Regions from separate parts of the Homo sapiens genome. Here all the other regions are linked to region 4. Evidence: promoter capture Hi-C in 16 types of primary human blood cells and fetal thymus (Javierre and others, 2016). All regions are on one chromosome and are shown on one strand. The core of a region is centred on a gene start or on the middle of the fragment in contact, and the rest is flanking DNA. Distances in the headings are between cores, read along the strand shown. Region 1 overlaps PIK3C2A (phosphatidylinositol-4-phosphate 3-kinase catalytic subunit type 2 alpha). Region 2 overlaps SERGEF (secretion regulating guanine nucleotide exchange factor). Region 3 has its middle 33 kb from the start of NUCB2. Region 4 holds the start of OTOG (otogelin).

The links. Contacts are between HindIII fragments. The CHiCAGO score rates a contact against its expected background, and 5 or more counts as called.
Region 1: a fragment that was not itself captured here is called in contact with the fragment with the promoter of OTOG in region 4 in 1 of 17 cell types (naive CD4 T cells); the score reaches 5.1 in naive CD4 T cells.
Region 2: a contact is called between a fragment that was not itself captured here and the fragment with the promoter of OTOG in region 4, in 2 of 17 cell types (M1 macrophages and M2 macrophages). The highest score is 5.6, in M1 macrophages.
Region 3: a fragment that was not itself captured here is called in contact with the fragment with the promoter of OTOG in region 4 in 1 of 17 cell types (M2 macrophages); the score reaches 5.1 in M2 macrophages.

Annotation. Positions count from the first base shown.
Region 1 is chr11:17,158,902-17,161,893 of GRCh38, forward strand. All of the region lies in intron 2 of PIK3C2A (phosphatidylinositol-4-phosphate 3-kinase catalytic subunit type 2 alpha), which reads right to left. Among named protein-coding and RNA genes, the nearest start is that of PIK3C2A, 48 kb to the right of the region's middle. The HindIII fragment of the contact is 3,000 bases long and covers 1-2,786 here.
Region 2 is chr11:17,976,250-17,979,608 of GRCh38, forward strand. All of the region lies in intron 8 of SERGEF (secretion regulating guanine nucleotide exchange factor), which reads right to left. Among named protein-coding and RNA genes, the nearest start is that of SERGEF, 35 kb to the right of the region's middle. The HindIII fragment of the contact is 478 bases long and covers 1,301-1,778 here.
Region 3 is chr11:17,242,321-17,245,488 of GRCh38, forward strand. No RefSeq gene overlaps it. Among named protein-coding and RNA genes, the nearest start is that of NUCB2, 33 kb to the right of the region's middle. The HindIII fragment of the contact is 2,198 bases long and covers 470-2,667 here.
Region 4 is chr11:17,545,981-17,548,936 of GRCh38, forward strand. OTOG (otogelin) reads left to right here and starts at 1,279. Exons shown (of 56, transcript NM_001292063.2): 1 at 1,279-1,486; 2 at 1,947-2,007; 3 at 2,172-2,232. The coding sequence starts at 1,393. The HindIII fragment of the contact is 7,774 bases long and covers 233-2,956 here.

The DNA of each region.
Region 1 (2,992 bases), core at 37-2,536, 390 kb before region 4:
TAGTCACACATCAAGGTAATAATAGAATCTGGAAAGTTAACTCAAATGTTAAAGTCTGTAAAGGGTAAAAAATAGCTAGGCTGCCAATATTTCACCTCAAACATTAACAGTTTTGGGTTTTTCCCTCTGCTCTTTCTGGAATAAAAAATACATATATTTTACACCTATTCCCTTCACCCATACTCCCACCCCACTTCCAAACTCCACACAAACAAACCAAAGCATCAAATCATCTCTTTTCTCCATGGATCTTGCACAGACTTTTCTTCTGTGGCACTCAAGACTTTCTATTTTGTACTGCATTTATACACATTCACATCTTGTCTCCCCTTTCTAGCCCAAGTTCTTTAATGGTGAAGTCCACAAATGATTAGTATGTGCAATCCTCACACTGTATAACCACACACATTTTTTAACAAATGAAAGAGATATATGATAATCAATAAGAAAACACTGCCAATGCATTAGCCAATACCTGGAACAAAGAAAGAAGTTTGCAGGGGAAGATACAAAGTTCTCTAGTAAATATGTTGTGTTTGAAAATCCATGTAGATGTTTAGGTCATCGTCTAGAAATGTTCTACTCCAGAAATATTCTATTCCAGAGCTAGAAACAAAGATTTAGTGATCATCCAATTTCTGTAATTTTTTACAGGGAACTCACTCTCTCTGTTAACTGCTGTCAGCATCCATCAGGATCACTGAGACAGCAAATTCTCAGTCAGTAGTCTTTGGGTCAAGCTCCATTAAGAGGAAACAGTCTCTTTGGGAAGCTAAAGGAGACATAAGGGCCTGTATCTGTGAGGCACAGAACTGGGACATCTCTTTATTTTCGTATATATGGAATGGCTTATGCAATTATGAGCTGACAAGTCTCCAGATCTGCAGCTGGCAAGCTGGAGACAAAGGAGAGCAATGGTGCAGTTGCAGAACGCAGGAAGGGCCAATGCTTCTGTTTTAGTCCAAAGGTAGGAAAAAAATTGATGTTCCAGCTTCAAAGCAGTCAAGCAGGAGGAGTTTCCCCCTTACTTTTGGGAGGGTCATTCTGCAGGCCTTCAACTAATTGGATGAGGCTCACTCACATTAAGCAGGGAATTTGCTTTATCCAGCTGACCAATTCAAACATTAATCTGACCCAAAAACACGCTCATAGAAATACCCAGAATAATGTCTGATCAGATATCTGGACACCTCATGGCCTAGTCAAGCTGAAACATAAAATTAACCATCACAGCATCTCGAGCATAGACAGCCAAGGAGTCACATTACTACAAGGGTCTAGATCAGTAGCTTTCAATTTAAGTAAATTGGAGCCTCAAGAATAAAGCACTGGCCAAGGGAAAACAAGTAAAGCATTATTAAAAACAACCAAGAACAAAACCTTTGGAGGAATGCCTATGTTTAAAGGCTAGACAAAGAAAAAGGAGTCAAAAATCACAGGAAGAAAAATAGGAAGTAGATTTACCCAGGGCAACAGAAGTTTCAAGAAAAGGATGTAGTCAATTTTTAAAAAATAAGCAAAAGGGCTAAATGGTGAATATGGTCGAGGGATTGGCAATTCTATAACATAATGGGAATAACAGAAGGAGAGCAAGAGACTGGAAAGGCAGTGAGTACAAATTCCTTTTTAAAGAGTAATAACTTTAAGGACAGGTGTGGTAGCTCATATCTGTAATCCTAGCACTTTGGGAGGCAGGTGGATAGCTCTAGTCCAGGAGATGGAGACCAGCCTAGGCAACATAGTGAAACCCCATCTCTACACAATATACAAAACTTAGCTAGGTATGATGGCATGCCCCTGTAGTCCCAGCTACTCAGGAGGTTGAGGCAGGAGGATGGCTCGAACCCAGGAGACAGAGGTTGCAGTTAGCCGAGGTTGCACCATTACACTCTAGCCTGGATGACAGAGCAAGACCCTGCCTTAACAAAACCAAACCAAAACAAAACAAACAAACAAACAGTAATAACTTTGGGGAAGACAGGAACAAACAGGAACAAAAAAAACAGTTAAGTTTTGGAAAAGGGAAGGAACATCTCTTCCTTTCAAACCAGAAAGATGAGGGAAATGTGAGGTGAGCAGTTCACACATGGATGGCCTTGACCTCAATTTAAAAGAAAAAAAATGGTAGAGAGTTGGCAGAGGTGAGTTTGGAGGTTTAAGGAAAGTGGTGAAGGTTTAAAATAATTCACAAAAATTTATCATTAATACTCTGTAAAGTAGTTACAAGAATATGGGGAAGATTTATACCTATACAAGTTCAAGGTTCATGCCACATTACCCAGAAATTATATGGAACACAACACCAAGTTTTCAATAAATGCACTTTAAACATTAAATACATATTACTTTTCAGAAGAAAGTTGGTTACATCCTTAATTGGACTTTTTCCCAAAGAAACTTATATTTACTGTTCAAATATACTCAGTCAGACTATGAAAATCACATTTTGTTTAACTTTTGCTCTTCTTTAAAATTAATAATAGACATTTTGCCAATGGGGATATGTTTAAAATGTTAATACAATTAACTTTTAGAAAGAGTTTACAACCAAAGAACTTTGCAAAGCCACCTCTATGACAATAATTTGATCTATTATAAAATTCTTTGAAATCTGCTCAAAGTAGTTAAATTCACAGCTATTAACTAAAAGCCTGATTTAAACTTAAATTTCCAGAAGACAGTTTTAAGTATTATGTCTTTTACTGGTTTTGGTCACAAAAAATTGGAACTAATGTATTTAGGTTATTATTAATAAAACAAAGGACACTAGATGGAAACAGGAAGTAAGCTTGCTGAGTGAGAAGAAAAATACCCTCTGTGTTGAGTTTTTACCACAAAGCACAAAATTCTTACAGGAAATGAACACTTAAGCATGTGAAGTAATTATAAAGAATAGGCATTGCAATATTATTTTCCAATAAAAAATATCAGGGAAAAGTTTGTAAGTAGAGATGAATGGTGTGTGAAAAATTAAAAGCTCCGTGCCAATGAA
Region 2 (3,359 bases), core at 290-2,789, 430 kb after region 4:
CACATTGAGAGCACTTTAAGGTACTGGTCTATGATTATTTATTTATTTATTTTTGAGACGGAGACTCACTCTGTCGCCCAGGCTAGAGTGCAGTGGTGTGATCTTGGCTCTCTGCAACCTCTGCCTCCAGGGTTCAAGTGATTCTCTTGCCTCAGCCTCCCGAGTAGATGGGACTACAGGCATGCACCACCACCTCGGCTAATTTTCATTTTTTTTTTTTTTTTTTTTTTTTAGCAGAGATGGGATTTCACCATATTGGCCAGGCTGGTCTCAAACTCCTGACCTCGTGATCCACCCGCCTTGGCCTCCCAAAGTGCTGGGATTACATGAGTGAGCCACCGTGCCTGGCTGTCACTGTGATTATTGAGAGCACCCATGGGATAGGCAAGGTCCCCTGAGAAAGGGCAAGCAGAGTGCCATCTGCCAAAAACCTAAAAATGATGGCAAAATTACAGGCCAGTAACTAAATGCTTACTTTTAGAGAGCTCCTGGAACAAATCAATCTCCATCAGGAAAGAGGAAGATTCTTTGAATGGAAACTGAGCTCTCTGCCAGGGACCTCTACACCCTTCCCAGAACCATCTGGTGAGCTTGCAGCATGGCTGGTCACCCCACTCACTATGGACAGATGGGGAAGCCAAGGTCTCAAGGCAAGGCCTTGCAGATAGGCAGGAGCAAAGCTGGTCTTAAAACGCTGGGGCATCAGGCATCACTGTCAGCCTCAGGGAGCTGAGGCTCTGTGGCCTGGGCTTCTCCAAGAAGGTAGGAAGAGGGCAGGGCCAGCTACAGGCTGTATCTCCTGAACACAGCCATTGGAAATAGCATCACTTCCACATCCAAAAGTTCTACCCATCCCATGCCACCAGCACTCGAGTCTCTCGTCTATAGTTGGAGAAATCCAGGGATGAATAAAGCAGACCAAGTCCCTAACCTTGTGGGGCTCACATTCGGTTAGGAGAGAATGACAACAAATAAGTAAACATATAATGACACTATGGTTTCAGGCAATGAAAACTGCTATAATGAAAAATAACACAGTGAAGGGAATAGAGTGTAAGAGGTGACATTTGGACAAGAACCAATGGAAGTGAGGCAGTAGCTATGCAGGAATCACAGAGACGAGCATTCCTGGAAGAAAGAACTGCTAGAACACAGGCACAGAGGGGAAAGGTATTTAACCATTTCTCAGTGGGCTTTATACCACCAGCCACCACTCCCTAACCTGCTCCAATAAATACCTGCCCTTTCCTGCTTCAAAGGCCTCCTCCCTCTGGCAGTTCACCACCATAACTCCCCCAGAAGCTTTCTCCAGGAAGGAGAGACAAAATATCTGTTGCCCCCTCCCTAAAGCCTAAAGGGCTGCTACAGACTGAATGGTTGTGTCCCCATCAAATTCATATGTTGAAATCCTAACCCTTAATATTATGGAGACAAGGCCTGTGGGAGGTGATGAGGTCATGAAGGTAGGGCCCTCATGAATGGGATCATTGGCCTTATAAAAGAAACCCCAGAGAGCTCCTTTACTTCTTCTGCCATGTGAGGCACAGCAAAAAGGTGAGAGTCTATGAACCAGGAGGCAGGTCATCACCAGACACCAAATCTTCTGGTATTTTGATTAGGACTTCCCAGCCTCCAGAACTGTAAGACATAGGTTTCTATTGTTTATAAGCCACCCAGTCTATATCACTTGGTATAGCAGCCTGAATGGAATAAGATAGTCAATTGCTACATTTCCCATAAGGTCACCTTGAGAGGAAGTGGCATGATGAAATAAAATAAGCTTTGATATCAAACACAGCAGGATTCAAGTGTCTGCTTTGCTTTCTAACTAGCTATGGTACTTTATACAAGCCACTTAGCCTCTCTGAGCCTCAATCCTCACCTAGAATGAAGGGAAATGAACCCTACCTTAAGGGGCTACAGCAGTATTACCCTCAGGCTGTAGAGCAGTACCTGGCAGAGCACCTAGTACATAGTAAGTACTTGGCAAACACTGGCTCCCTGCCCTAACCTGATCCCCTTGGAAATTAAAAAAAAAAAAATGTTCTTATTCAACCAATTGTGCTAACTCATGTCTTCAGCATGTCTCTGGCAAGGCCCTGGGCCTGCCCATCTGTGGGGTATAGGACTTAAGAGATGACCCCTAATTCTATCCATTGCACAGTGTGATGGGAAGCCTTGGTCCAGAGAACTGAGGAGGAGAACTGGACAGGGCAGAGGCGAGCAGAAAAGATGTGCACATTGCTTTTGCTGTGAGTGAGAAGGTGAAAAATCATTAAGACCAGGCCCTTGAAGAAATCAGGAAAAAGGCAGACAGTTAACTGCCACTGCCAGGTCCTCTCCCACAGCTGGCTCACTGGCCCTTGTCCCCTGGATCTCCATGGGGCAGCCAGCTAGAGGTCAGATCCATATCAGTTCCTGTTAAGAGCAAGGACTATCAGCTATTAACTCAGGGTGTGTCCTTATGCAAGACCCTTTCCCTTTCTGGGCCTAGGTTCTCCCATCCATACAAAAACAGGGAAGGCCTGGGTGACCTCCAGGGGCCCTTTCAGCTCTGACCTTACTAATTCCGAATGATGACTCTACCAGCCTCATCCCAAGGCTAGCTGGCTGCCTACTGCTGCCATCTGGTGGCCCTGCAGGCCCAGCCCCTTGTCGAATACACCCACTTCAGAGGGTGACTCCTGCTTCTGCTTCAGGTGCACACATGCTACACTTCTCTAGACCACAGATCAATGGGTATTCACAGCCAAACACAAAATCCAAATATAATGATAACGCTTCATCTCTCTAGCAGAGATGACACAGCTGCAGCTGAGAACATGACCTCCCTTCTCAAAGACAGAAGGTAACCTGCATAAGATCACAGAGCTGCCTGGTTCCCAGGCCAGTACACGGTTTCACTTTGCCACAATGCTTAGGGCTGGTGGGTACCTGCAAACCAAAAATAAAGTCAGCCTAGAGCCAAGGAACAAAGCTGTTTGAAGGTGGGGAAAAAACTGCCAGGATTCCTCGCAAACCTCAAGAAATAGTAAGGCATGGCACGTGAACAGGCTGAGCACTGCTTGCAGAAATTAACTGGAAATACAAACTTGGGGTATCCAATGTATCTCCCTAATCTTGGAGGTGATCATTCATAAGAACACCTGCAGGGTCTTCCATAAACCAGGCTCCAAGCCACCACCACAGCCTGGATCCTAGACTAGGCAGACCACCAAATAGTGGGGAAGACACCTGGGGTAGCATTGTGTGTTTGTGTGAGCTTCCCCCTGCCAGACAGCAGCTCCTCCGGGCAGGGTTATATCTTTTCTTCTCTATCTCCAGGCCTCTTAACACCTGGCCAGAGGCGCTCAGTGAAT
Region 3 (3,168 bases), core at 319-2,818, 300 kb before region 4:
GATCATGCCACTGCACTCCAGCCTGGGGCAACAGAGCGACAGTGTCTAAAAAATAAAAAATAATTTAAAAAAGAAAGAAAATGAATGGATTATGTGAAACTTAGTTATAGACAAGATTAAAATTCATCTGTAATCTTTAGATGAATGGTGTTATATGAGAATAAAGTACAATGTGTCAGAAGAAACAATTACCACTGTGCTAATAAACTATCACTTAATTACAAAAATAAAATCCTTCAAGTCCTCAAACTTGCCACTGTGGTTTTTCCTCTCACAAAGGAAATCCTGTTATAATTCTTAAATCCAAATGAAGGCATTTTAATATTCCCTTTTCCTGCAAGCTAAATGTCTTATTGAATTATAAAACAGAAAATTTTCATCTCAGAAAGTTTTACTCAATTTTTTGTATCCCCCAAATAATGCTTAAAGCTGTTCAAAGTTTTAATTATTACAAAACACTTAAGATAAAAGCTTGTAATCCCTCAAAGCAAATCACAACAAATCCAAGGGCTTTCTTTTCTTCAAAGGGAACTGTCTAAATAAAGGGGGAAAACTGTGTAATAAGCTAAGCATAATATTGTTGGCTGCTTCATAATAACCAACAGGCACACAATGGCTTGGGGCCTAGCAAGCAACAAAGAATAATTCTTCATCACATAGTCTTCACTTTGATTTCAGCTAGATGTCTGACCATGGTGAACCAGTTTATCAACATTAGCCTCCCTTTTCTTCCCTGTAAAATGAGGGATTGGTTCCAAGTCTTTGCTATTGTGAATAGTGCCACAATGATAGACTGGATTAAGAAAATGTGGCACATAGACACCATGGAATACTATGCAGCCATAAAAAAGGATGAATTCATGTCCTTTGTAGGGACATGGATGAAGCTGGAAACCATCATTCTCAGCAAACTACCGCAAGGACAAAAAACCAAACACCGCATGTTCTCACTCATAGGTGGGAATTGAACAATGAGAACACATGGACACAGGAAGGGGAACATCGCACACTGGGGACGGTTGTGGGGTGGAGGGAGCGGGGAGGGATAGTGTTAGGAGATATACCTAATGTTAAATGACGAGTTAATGGGTGCAGCACACCAACATGGCACATGTATACATATGTAACAAACCTGCACGTTGTGCATATGTACCCTAAAACTTAAAGTATAATAATAATAAAAACAAACAAACAAAACAAAACATTGAGTTAAAAAAAAATGAGGGATTGGACTAGCTGGTACCTAGTCCCCACATTTCATTGATTCAGTAAAAGCCTGCTTTTGATTTTGAGAGCATCAAAAACTATTTACCATCAAAAAGAGCATCGAAAAATAAGAGCGGACCCAAGAGGTGAAGCAACTCTCCCCTGGTTACACAGAAGCAGAGCTAGGATTAAACTCCAAGGTGTCTGACTTCCAGGACAGGAGCATTTTCCATAATGTCATGCGGCTTGAAATTCTTTCCAGAGATGAGCTTTCCTGCTATATGTATGAAATTGTAACCAAAATAAACATAAACTACATAAAACATTAAGCTAACATAACTTCTTCTTTCTTTTTTTTTTTTTTTTTTTTTTTGAGACAGGTTCTCATTCTGTCACCCAGGCTGGAGTGCAGTGGCACGATCTCAGCTCACTGCAACATCTGCCTCCTGGGTTCAAATGATTCTCCTGCCTCAGCCTCCCGAGTAGCTGGGATTACAGGCATGCACCACCATGCCCAGCTAATTTTTGTACTTTTAGTAGAGACAGGGTTTCACCATGTTGGCCAGGCTGGTCATAACATAACTTCTTCTAAGGAAATGATTATTTCCCTGGGTGGCTTAATATAAGTCATAAGTAACTGATTGTGGTCAGAAGTGTGGATGTAATTATTTCTAGGGAACCACATGAAAGCAGGTCAAGTTCTCATACACAGCAAAAATGCCTGTTTTCAAGACCAAGCAGTACTGATCCTCTTGGTATACGAGTGACCTGTGAGCAGAGACCATGCCTGGCCCATCTGTGTAGTTAGCAAGGCAGGTATTCTGCACCTTGGAGATCATCCCATGAGTGTAGGGCCTGGGAGCAGGACTGAGGCAAAGGAGTTGGCTCAAGCATTAGGGAGGGGCATCTCCGGAAGACAAGGCAGGTATGGAAGGAGATCTTATAATAGTAGCCAAACATAAATCAGTCCTGTGCATAGGCACATGAGTAGAAATGTCAGGTATCCTCAACCATAGTTCCACACAACTCGGGGATGAGGAAGGGAACTGTAGAGAAAAGAAACCCCATCTGTGTTTTCTAAATATATTATATCCCTCCCCACCCTTCTTCCTTTGAGAAAGTTTTAAAGTTATTATATATTTAACATTAGTGTATCTGAACATATTACTAGAAAAGGGATAAACTGCATGACAAAATGACTCATTTAAAAATTTCTATGATTTCTATATTTATGTAATATTTATATAACGCTTAGTAGTGCCAGGCACTGTTATAAGTACTTGCAAATAAATATTAAGTCATTTAATCATTTTAAGAACTCTATGGTAAGTAACCTATTATCTCTATTTTACAAATGAGGAAACTGAGGCACAGAGAGATAAGTAAATTGCCTGAGGACATATGGCTAGTAAGGAGCAGAGCCTAGGCGGTTTGCTCCTGATTCTATGCTCCTAACCACCAAGCTTCACTTTCTCCTTGAGAAAGGACTACAAAGGAAGTGGTAAGAGTGGGCATTTCTCCCTTTGCTGCTCAGCTTCTTTTTTTTTTTTTTTTTTTTTTTTGAGACAGGAGTCTCGCTCTGTCACCCAGGCTGGAGTGCAGTGGTACAATCTCAGCTCACTGCAACCTGCGGCTCCTGGGTTCAAGTGATTCTCCAGCCTCATCCTCCTGAGAAGCTGGGACTACAGGTGCGGGCCACCACATCCGGCTTTTTTTTTTTTTCTTTTTTTTCAGTAGAGACGGGTTTCATCATGTTGTCCAGGCTGGTCTCGAACTCCTGACCTCAGGTGATCCGCCCGCCTTGGCATCCCAAAAGTTGGGATTACAGGTGTCAGCCACTACACCTGGCCATTGGCTGCTCAGCTTCTAAGCTCACTTCTTAGGTTAGGAGAATCTTGGTGAGACTTGAAAGAGGCAGAGTCACTTCCCACTCTACAAGCTGAAAATGGCAGATACTCATAT
Region 4 (2,956 bases), core at 29-2,528:
TTGATTCTCTACATTGGAAAAGAATGTCATATGGCTGTTTATTTTGTATTTAGAATCCTGGCAGAGGTGAATGAATGTCCTTATCCAGGGGAATGCTGTTCACCTGCCACACCAATCCTTATTTTACATTGGCCATTACCCCCACAGACTCCCTCCACCTTAAAATGCCCCCTGCTTTGTTTTGAGAATAGCATTGAGACCTGGTTCTCCTCTCTCATGAATTTTTGTTTCAAGCTTCCTTGGAGACAATCAGTCTTTGCCTGTTCCTTAACCAGCATTCCTTAAGGCTCCATCCTTAGCTCTTTCCTCTTCATCTTCCTATCTGTGCCCCCAGCTTCCTCCTGTGTGAAGATAGCTGTGTTTGCTTTATTTACCACTATATGCCTAGAACAGTGCATGGCATGGAATCAATGCCAAACAAATTTGTTGAGTGAATGAATGAATGAATGAATGAATGAATGCATCTCAAATCTATACCCTTGCCTAGAAGTCTACTGGGGCCAATACCACCACGACCACCACCACCACCATCATCATCATCCTCTGTAAGACCTAGCATCTAGTTGGTGTTCCCTAAGTGATGACGAAGTGAATGATGTACAGATTCCCCAGGTGCTCAGTCCCATGTTTTTGCCATTTTAAAATTCCTCCTGGGCAGACAGTGGACCTCGTTCACACATATAAAGTTGTTTTGTCAAAGTTTGGCCTTGATGGTGGCAATAACATAGGAGTATGAAACACTTTTATTATTCAATCGTCATTTCCTGAGCTCGGGCAGGAGCTGGTGCTGGGCATTCAGAGGACTAAGGCATGATCCATTCCCTAGAGGTGCTCAAAACTGGTCATAGGATACGGATGTGGAGACCCAGGTGGAAGCTGAGGTGGGGCATGGTGAGAACATAGGCTAGGACTCTGCAGGCTCTGTTATTGACCACTGATCCCTGAGTGGCATGTCCCAGGGCCTCAGCATGGCCCTCTGTAAAAGGAGAGGATAGGGCCAGACTCATACCTGCATCTTGCGTCTCTGGTATTGGGCTTCCAGGACCCAGGTAAGGGGAGCTGGAGGTTGCATAGGCTGCCTCTATGCTTCCCTAGACAATTTAGGGCTGAGTAATCTGAATCCAGCCTCCCCTGGGGAGGTGTGGCCACAGGCCAAGAAAAGCAGAGGCTAGGCTATGGACAGGCGCCTAAATTATGGTAATAAGCTGGGTACTCCTGTCACTCTAGTTCGGGGAGGAGCTGAGAGCCTGGGAGGAGGGGCTGAGGGAGCCCTGGGGCATGAGAACAAGAGGGACCTCGGCTGCGGAGTGGAGGTGTGACCCTGCCTTAGCCCGGGGAGGCACCTCGGGAGGCTGGCCCTGCGCTCAAGTCCTCCGGTCCCCTCGTGTCCCTATGGGAGTCCTGGCGTCTGCGCTCTGCTGGCTGCTTTGTGTCTGGCTGCCCTGGGGTGAGCAGGCAGCCGAGTCCCTGCGGGTGCAGCGCCTCGGTGAGAGGGTTGTGGACTCAGGGAGGTCGGGGGCTCGAGGAATGAGAAACGTTAAAGGAATGAGGAATGGGCCCGCGCAGGTTGGAGAGAGGGAGGAAAGAGAGGTTTGAGGGAGAGCAGAGGGACACCCAGGAGGAGCAGTCAGGGGAGGAGGGACCCCGAAGCCAACAGAGGCAGGCCTATGACCGCGGGGGAAAGAGTCCAAAGTTAGGCTGGGTGGAAGAGACCCGAGGTGGGGAACTAGAGAGAGCTGGGGGCCAAAGACTGAGAGTAAACAGGGAGATCCTGGCTGGAGAAGGGTCATCAGGAAGGGAGAGAAAGGATTTGAGAAGGCTGCAGGGAGGGAGAATGGGGGAATGCTCAGTGGCGTGGGAGAGGCTTTCTAGCAGTGGGGGCCAGGTGGTGGGAGGCCCCAGTAAAGACAAGCACAATTTGAGTGGAGAATAATCCCCCTCCCCAGCCGCAGCACCCGTTCTGTGGGGCAGTGCAGAGCCACAGCCAGAGCCAGCCGGGCAACCCAGGTGAGTAGGTGTGAGCTGTGGCGGCCCCACCCACAGCTCCCATCCGTATTTCTGGCATCAGCGACCCCAGGGCTTTAGCACTTAGGGTGGGATAGGCCAGGGGACTGCGGGGAGGCATAACCCATCCTAGCCCCCCATCCATGCCAGACTCGTGTTTCCTCCAGCAGCAGCCACCAGGAGGCGACCCTTGCCATGGGGGACAAGGCTACAGTCGTGGGAGGCCAGGTAAGGGAGGTCTTGGGAGGGGGCTTCATTGAGCAGGAGCTCATGTCTATCTGGATCTGAGGCTGGCAGGGAGCTCTGTAGGTTACAGGAGGGGTCTCTGGAGTTGTTCAGAAAGGAACAAGCAGATTCCTGGTATGTGTCTGAGGTGTGCAAGTTCATAAAACCCTTCTATTCTTTTTAATCTCTTGGGGGTCTATAGTCCACTCTTTTTTTTTTTTTTTTTTTTTTTTTTTTTTTTTTTTTTAGGAGAGGTGGGCACCAGGGCTCTTTCAGGAGAGAGCTGAGCTCTCCCTTCTGGCAGGTAAAAGTAGAAAGATGGACGTTTAGAAGAATGGAGTTCTCTTTTCCCTGACTGGCCTGCGAAGGCCCTCAACCCTGTCAGAGGCTCCTCTCCATACCCTGAGCGGAGCCTCAAGAATGCAGGCAAGACAAAAACTAGGCCACCTGGTGGAAGTTGCAAGGAAGGTTTGGTTGAGAAGCAGAGCCCTGAACTCATCCTTTGAGCCTTTTTTTTTCTTTTTTTGAGTCGGGGTCTTGCTCTGTGACACAGGCTGGAGTGCAGTCGCATAATCATAGTTCACTGCAGCCTCAACTTCCTGGGCTCAAGTGATCCTGGTGCCTCCGTTACCTGAGTAGCTAGGACTATAGGTGTGTGCCACCATGCCTGGTTGAATTTCAATTTTTTTGGTAGAGACAGAGTCTCACTATGTTGCCCAGGCTGGTC